3 separate regions of the Homo sapiens genome follow, and all the other regions are linked to region 2. Evidence: promoter capture Hi-C in human tissues and cell types (Jung and others, 2019). All regions are on one chromosome and are shown on one strand. The core of a region is centred on a gene start or on the middle of the fragment in contact, and the rest is flanking DNA. Distances in the headings are between cores, read along the strand shown. Region 1 overlaps CSMD3 (CUB and Sushi multiple domains 3). Region 2 holds the start of CSMD3 (CUB and Sushi multiple domains 3). Region 3 overlaps LINC02237 (long intergenic non-protein coding RNA 2237).

Region 1 (2,700 bases), core at 39-2,538, 1.0 Mb before region 2:
ATAAATTATTTGCACATGTGACTTACTTTGTATTATGTTTTGGTCTTCAATGGTTTACAAAGCCATGGTAACTCACTTCAAAACACAAATGGATCTTTTTAAAACAATGAATTAAACCTTATTCTCAAGGTTTGTTAAGACTCTCACTAGAGACCAAGAATAAGATAGGTAATTCCCTAAAATTATTCAGTTTCCCTAACTATGTCATAGCTTGATCCAAATTAGGATCAGAACATTTTTTCTTCTTTTCATGTTCCCATTCTTCTATTTTATTTTATTTTACTTACTTATTTATTTATTTATTTATTTGAGGCGGAGTCTCACTCTGTCACTAGGCTGGAGTACAGTGGCGTGATCTCGGCTCACTGCAACCTCCACCTACCAGGTTCAAGCAGTTCTCCTGCCTCAACCTCCCGAGTAGCTGGGACCACAGGCATGTGCCACAATGCCCAGCTAATTTTTGTATTTTCAGTAGAGACGGGGTTTCACCATGTTGGCCAGGAGGGTCTCTATCTCTCGACCTTGCGGTCTGCCCACCTCAGCCTCTCAAAGTGCTGGGATTACAGGCATGAGCCACCGCGCTTGACCTATTTTTTATTTAGTAAGAATGTTGTTTAAATGTTTCTTAAATATCAGTTATTCTGAATAAGTAACTACATTTTACTTCTCAGTTGTTAGTTGTTAAAAATTCTTTACAGTTAAATGATGCTGGAACCCAACTAGTAATAACCATTAATCAAAAAGCCTCATGTAAATAGGATCATTATCATTTATTTTACATACTATGATATTCCAAAATAGATAAGACATCCTGAAAAGCTTTGTGAAAGAGTCATGTGGCTAACTAATGTTTTGAAAGATATCTAGAAGGTTATATTCTAATTTTAAATGGTAAATATTCTGACTTCAAATTGTGAACCCCAATTTTTTTCATGTTAATTTGGACTTAATTTATAGATTCAGCAACTCAAAGTCAGTGGAGGGTGAGAAGGAGTCTTAAGAACAAATCTAAAGGAAGCCTATTGTCTTTCTTGCATGGCTATATTTGCTGTACTCACTTATCTGTGAGGAGTTTAATCTGTATTGTCTCAGATTTTACTTGTAATAACTTGAGTAGTAGGTATTCTTATGCATATTTTGAGGATGAGGAAACAGGCCCCCAGCTACCCCAAGGGAGACTTATGCTGCTAACATTCATATCCAGTGCCTCTTGAATTAATAGCTACTCACTTTCAAGCACTGTTATAAACAATTCCATACCAAGCATATTGACAGTCAGATTAGATAATTTTTTAACATTCCCCACTGTGGTAAAACTATTTTCATGAATAATCACAAATGAATTAATAATACTGGCCAGAAAATAAATATAGACTGTGAAAATTTTCTATTATTAAACTCTGTGTGTGTGTTAAAATAGTAGTAAAAAAATCTCAAAATAAGAAAACAAATATTAAAGTACCAAAAAAAAGATGAAGTCATACATTCGTTACATAAGTGTATTTTTTTAATGGGAAGAAACACACACTGAAGTTTGGACTCTATTTTAGTCTTCTAAATTTTAAGCAGAAACAAAAAATACAAGTGGTTACATAGAATTCCATCACTGAAATAAGTCAAGTTCTATTTCTTTGTCTTACAATTACTGTTCCATCATATACTGTCTGAATGCACAAATACATAGTAAAATGGAGCTGGAGACATAAAAAAAGTGAGCTGCAATAGTTTCAAATCATTAAAACTTTACTCTGAAAATGATTGTTTAGCTTAATTCTAGTGTGTCAAGGACAACAAATAAAATAAGATAAAATTCCATTGGTGAATTTGAGTGTGTGTGCAGGGGGTGGGGAGTGAGGGTGAAAACTTTTTTTTAAGCACATTTTAATAGGTAGTTGGTATTGATTGTGAACCTTCTATATTTTTTGGAAACAATTCATTTCATCAAAGCAACTAAATATAAACATAGTCATGTTTAATTATTTTACTGTTAAGTAAGAAAAGCTGAAACAACTGAATTATTCCATTTGGTAAGGAATGCCTGGCCACTCTGTGACTCTTCTTCCTGAAACCCATGAAGCCAGACTTCACAGATTGATACCCCCAAGAGCATCTCCTAATTGTGATTTTTCTCCCACTTCTCTGACTTTGCTTATGCTAGACTATCTGATCTTCTTAGCTAATGTCTATTCATCTTTGAAGACTCAGCTCTGGTGAGCTATCACCAGATACTATCATTACCTCAGAATTTATCTGATTAAGGTTTGCTCAAATACTTTTCCATTGTATGCACTGCTTATTCTGGTCATATAAATTATTGCACTATTTTGAAATTCTGACTTACATATATTTTTCCTTCACTACTTTAGATTATTCGTGTATTCCAGTAACTACTTCCCTGGCACTAACAACACCTTTGTGCAATGAATGTGGAAACTCCAATTATGTACAAAAAATAAAATCAGAAATGCTAAGACAATGTTTTCACTCTTTTCAGGTAATCGTGATACCTTGCAATCATTTCAAATACCAGGTGTTCAAAAGTATTGTGTCAGCATGGCTCTCCTTTTTCATTTTATTTGTTTTTACCCACAAGTAGTCAATATTATTTAAGCAAATATCAATCATATCTGACAGAGCTTCCTTAAATATAAATTGAGCTACCACAAGTTACTTTAAAGAAATAACAAAAATGAGGATATT
Region 2 (2,700 bases), core at 144-2,643:
GAAGCGTCCAGTTTGTGTTGACAGCCCTGGCGCGCCTGGGCCAAAACAGCACCCCCTTTCCCGCGATCCCCCGCCCCCCCGCGACACACAGACACCCGGGATTTGAAACTAGCTTCACTGAAAGCGGCATCCATAGCGTCTATTCGAGCTGCCATGAGTATGGAGAGGTGATTGTTCAAAAAATGATGGCATGAGTCATAAACACCTCCTGAGTATTCTTTGCAGCAATTAATGGGCAGCAGGGTGCCGGAGAAGTTGTGGAAGAGAGCTATGGATCTATTTTCTCCCTAAGGACAGCTCTTTTTCCCATGATCCTGACTGTCCCTTGCCTTCCTGCTTGGGAATACATTTTTACATCCCACCTACCCCCTCCCCTATCTGTGCATGTGACACTCACTCTACCTGTCTGAACGCTGAGACTTGCTGGGGATTTTCTTTTGGTCGTCAGCTAATGACTTTCCTCCTACCTCATTCATCCCTTAAGGTGGTTCTTTACACTTCATGGCATTTCAGACCCTTCGAAAGCCTCATTTTTTGCCAAACCTCTACCACAGGTCCTAGGGAAGCTCCCCTACATTTAACATTGCATAGAAGCCCAATTTACATACATATGCATGCAGACATTCATGTTGATGTGGCAGTGCTTGGAAGATCCCTGTGCCCTAATGCATTTAAAATCAACACATTCCTAGCACGTCGATAACTTTCTTCCCTGAAAGGGTTAAAAAGCATTTAGACCAGCGTCTTTAATATATATATTCCACCCAAAGCCTCAAGCCCTAGTGATCTGACAAGAAATCAAGGTAATCCTCACCACTAAGAAAAGTCTTGCAGAGGAATTCTGCCTGGATATCCACTAGTTAGAGGCTATACTAACCAACTCACGTATTCGTTTGAGCATACTGCAAGAATATTTATTGAGCACAAGCTCAATCACCGCATTGAACGCCAAATCTGGCAAGCAAAATGCATTTCCTATCTGAGGGGGGGAGAACGAGCTGTGAATCAACTCCTTTAGTATTATCAGATTATTTTATCGGTGCAAATTGCAAAGTAAGCTGCCAGCCTCTCTCCATCTACAAGTCAGCCCACCTCCATCCAAAGCGGAGGGGACCCCCAAAGCAGACCTACCTTTCACACAAGACACCGTCAATAAAAAGACGAGGTTCCAAAACGTAAATCCACTTTTAATCCCCATTTTCTTCATCAGGATGAAGTCTAGGCGGCCACATTTAGCGCATCTTCGCTTGCCAGGCTCCCAGGGTTTGGATTCCTTTGCTCGGCTTTCCCCTTTGCGGATCCCTTTCATATTATTCGCGAGCTCCTAATTCCTGCTCCTCAGCCCGGCGCAGTGGAGTTGTTGCTGTTGTTGGTGCGCGGTCACAGCTCGGAGTGAATGGTGTTTCTGGGATACCACAGCAACCTTGACGAGGACTCAACCATCTCTCCAACGGGGGCACAAAGTCTCCGCTACTCTGGATTCTGTCTTTTCTTGTGCGTTTTTTCCCCTCCACCAAAATCTACCCCAATTCTGGCTCGTTATAGCAACCACCAGAAACCACTAGTGAGCCTCTTAAAGCCCACCTCTGCTCTCTGATAAACTCCACACAATATTTGAAATTAAGGGGCTTGCTTTTTTTCCCCGAATAGATCAATTCTGCCTGTAAAAGCAGCCCAAGAAATAATGTTAGTGAGCTCTCCGTTGCAGGCTGCGAATACAGAAGCATGTCAAAGGAATATTTTAATCGGAGGATCTGTGTTGCTTTTGGGGAAACCGTGACGATAATGAATCGGGCTCCATCGATGCCCACGTCGTTATAATGGGACATGTGTTACTACTGTAGTTGCAGTATATTTCAGGCAGGCTTCTCCCATTTATTATCCTGTGATTTAATTGAAAAAGGAAATCACAGAGAATTTTCTCAATAAATTCTGCCTTCACACGGAAAAGAATGTATTTGAACACATGTATTTACATACTCAAATAACTACGTGTAAACCCTTCACCGGGTTTTTATGATTCGGGAAACGGATTTCATCCGTGGCCTGGGCGGGGGTGGGGTGGGGAGGGAAGTCAATGTCGTTTCCTCAAATAGTTCTCCCTTTCATCCTCCCAACCCCCTTTTCAGTTTGTGTGTGCCGCAGTTAAACTACTTTATCTGTGGTAGTTATCTAGAACAAACCCATTTGTCTTAATTCTGAATCGGTACCAAATATGTAAATAGGAGGTTTCTTTCAAAACGAAAAATGTATGTATCTATACATCTGGATCTGCTTCCCCCATGCACCACGCAAGGGTTAAGATTGCACAAGGGAAGAGTTCTTGCGCCATCTACTGGCCGTCTCCGAGCCGCCCGTTCTTCCTTCGCATGTATAAGGGACCCTGTTTTTGCCATCCCTTGGTGTCAGGGGAGCTGTGTCCCCGGGACCAGTATGTCGTGCTCCTTGATTTTTTTCGACCACGGTCCTGGCCCAAATCTTTCAATGAACAAGTTCCTTAGATTAGGCAACTGATTGGTGATCTGACCTTTTCGGGAATCTGGTCCCCTCTCAGCAGTGGGGAGTGCCACAGCGCTAGTTCTGAAACAGGATATTGCTGTTGCGTGTGGCTCCATTTAACTGCCTCAGGCTATCATGGGCGTGAGCGTCTATCAACAAGGCTTAGTCTAGAGGACTGCCCAACTTGAGTTTGCAGCTCCC
Region 3 (2,700 bases), core at 5-2,504, 2.0 Mb before region 2:
TCATCAAAAAAAAAGACACTGTTATTACTTAGGAAATTCTAAAAATGTATATACATCTGAAGTGTATCTACATATACATCAATCTATCTCTCAAAATCAATCAATGTCTCTGTCTCACATACATACACACACAAGAGAAAGAGAGAGAGAGAGAGAGAGAGAGAAAGAGATTGATTTTAAGAAGTTGGCTTATGTGATTGTGGATGCTTGGCAAGTCCAAAATCTGTAGAGTAGGCTAGTAGGATGGAGACCCAGAAAAGACATGCATTTCAAAGGCAATCAGCTGGCAGAAACCCCTTTTCTTTCAGGGAGGTCCATTTTTTTCTAGGCTGTCAACTGATCAGATGAGACTGCTTATGAAAGGTAAACTATTTTATTCGAAGTCTACCCATCCCCATTTCATAAAACATGAAATTATCTAAAATAATGTTTGACCAAATATCTGGAAACTCTGACCCAGTCAAGTTGACAAATAAAATTAACCATAATGAGAGGCAAACTCTCAAGAACCAGAAATGGATGCTTTATTATACACTTCCTAATTTGATTGATATAAATGACATAGTGCGCAATTTTTTTCTCCTGAAATTATGCTTTTTTTCCCTAATTTATTCCCCTCGTGGGGTTCAACACATATCCAAGAAAATAAAGCAGAACAACACCTATTAATGGAATTCAATTCAGAAACACAGGAACAGAGAAACATTTGGCAGCGGCTTTGAGGGCTCCAACAAATAGCTGCTCTTTCTCATCTTAAATTCCTGACCTACAGCTTCAAAGATTGTAATATGTTGGAACAGAATGATTGACAACTTCATGTATAGGCTGAGGAGAAACAGCAGGACCCTGGCGTAGTTATAGAAAAGAGATGGCTTTAGAGGAGAAAACTGAAAAACAGAATTCAGTGTTAGAGTTTCTTTTCTCAAAAAGTAATGGGCTCTAAGAGACGGTACCAGAGTCTATATGAAAGTATCCGTGGCTTCTGACAAGCTATGGAAATGCTGAACATCTAGAGGGATCAGTTCTCTGCAGACTCTGAATGTAATCTACATATTGTTGTTTTGTAATAGATCATGTATCTTTTCTCTTTAATGAAGAATAGCTTAATACTGCATTTGCATTTATTTATGTACTTTGTTATTTAAATTTAGTAAAGACTGGCCTTAGAGTGAATCAAAATTAACCACTAAGTCAAAGTGCTAAATTGTCTGGTCTATGGCCAGATGTTCTTTGTATGTGCAGAGCAAGACATAGATATGTTTCTAAATTTTGTTATCTTTCTATTTTAATGGATTGTCTGTGATGAGAAGTCATTCGAAGAAAAATTAGATTCATGGCATTATCAAAATAGTTGCTATCCTTTGCTTGTCTATTTAAATAATAGGCATTTTCTCACATGCTTTTATACTTGGAAGATATTTATACATTAAACAAGGTAGAAGACTGTTTACTTAAGTCATGTTATTAAGTCAGTAAGTTTGTCAAATACTGTATTTCAGGGGTCCCTAACCCCCGGCCACAGACAAGTACTGGTCCATAGCCTGTTGGGAAACGGGCCTCACAGTAGAAGGCAAGTAGCCAGCATGCGAACAAAGCTTCATCTGTATTTAAAACCACTCCCCATCACAACCATTACCACCTGAGTTCGGCCTCCTATCAGATCAGCTGTGTCATTAGATTCTCATAGGCCTGCAAATCCTATTGTGGACTGCACATGTGAGGGATCTGGGTTGCATGCTCTTTATGAGAATCTAATGCCTGATGATGTGAAGTGGAGCTGAGGACGTAATGCTAGCACTGGGGAGAGACTACAAATACAGATTAACATTAGCAGAGATGTTTGACTGCACAGAGAACATACAAATCAAATGCTTGCAGATTCATATCAAAACCCTATCAGTGAATGGCAAATGACAATTAAGCTGCATCTGGTGGCTGGCTTTATAGTGGCACTTGAGTTGATGTACTTCAATTGTACAGCTGCATCTGGTGGCAGGCTTTAAGTCAGAATCTGACACTTATTCTAGTCCATGCATGGGTTGCCCATTATTTTATTTACCACTTCTGTTCATGCCTCTTTCCTTTACTGTGCACTTGTCTCAGCCACAGTTTGGGTAAGCCCACAAGCTAACCCTAGCCAAAATGAGTAAAAGCAAATGTCACTGGAGAGTTTCTTTGAAAAGAGGAAAAGACACAATGATGAGACAGCAGAAAACTCTACGGCTGACAACAAAAATACAGCTGAATTTAAAAGAAAATACCAAGTGTCCTACTTAAATTGTGGATTCATTGAAAAAGGTGATTCATATTCTGTAAACCTGCTTTGTATAATATGTGATGAGCAGTTATTTAATGAAGCCATTAAACTCTCAAAACTTCTTCACCACATGGAAACCAAGCACCCTCTATTAAAAGACAAGACTTAGGAGTTTTTCAAAAGAAAAAAAAAGTTGTGAACATGAAGAACAGAAGCAATGAAGGCCACCACTTCATCAAATGTGTCTGTACTGAGAGCATCATTCTTAGGGGCTAACTGCATTGCTAAAGCTAAGAAGGTCTTTACTGCTGGCAAAGAGCTAATCCTGCTTGCTGCTAAGGACATTTGTTGTGAAATTTTAGGAGAGGATGCAGTTCAAAAAGTGGCACGTGTTTCTCTTTTGGCTAGCATTATAACTAGACAAACTGATGAAATAGCAGAGG

What was found. Contacts are between HindIII fragments. The study calls those that stand out against the background at their distance.
Region 1: a contact is called between a fragment that was not itself captured here and the fragment with the promoter of CSMD3 in region 2, in 1 of the 25 tissues and cell types used here (dorsolateral prefrontal cortex).
Region 3: a contact is called between a fragment that was not itself captured here and the fragment with the promoter of CSMD3 in region 2, in 1 of the 25 tissues and cell types used here (dorsolateral prefrontal cortex).

The regions. Positions count from the first base shown.
Region 1 is chr8:112,424,402-112,427,101 of GRCh38, forward strand. All of the region lies in intron 32 of CSMD3 (CUB and Sushi multiple domains 3), which reads right to left. Among named protein-coding and RNA genes, the nearest start is that of MIR2053, 220 kb to the right of the region's middle. The HindIII fragment of the contact is 4,996 bases long and covers 1-2,700 here.
Region 2 is chr8:113,435,546-113,438,245 of GRCh38, forward strand. It overlaps CSMD3 (CUB and Sushi multiple domains 3), which reads right to left and starts at 1,394. Exons shown (of 71, transcript NM_198123.2): 1 at 1,132-1,394. The coding sequence starts at 1,309. RefSeq lists enhancers at 1-488, 2,266-2,315, 2,328-2,700. The HindIII fragment of the contact is 9,532 bases long and covers 1-2,700 here.
Region 3 is chr8:111,450,220-111,452,919 of GRCh38, forward strand. All of the region lies in intron 2 of LINC02237 (long intergenic non-protein coding RNA 2237), which reads left to right. Among named protein-coding and RNA genes, the nearest start is that of LINC02237, 75 kb to the left of the region's middle. The HindIII fragment of the contact is 3,906 bases long and covers 1-2,700 here.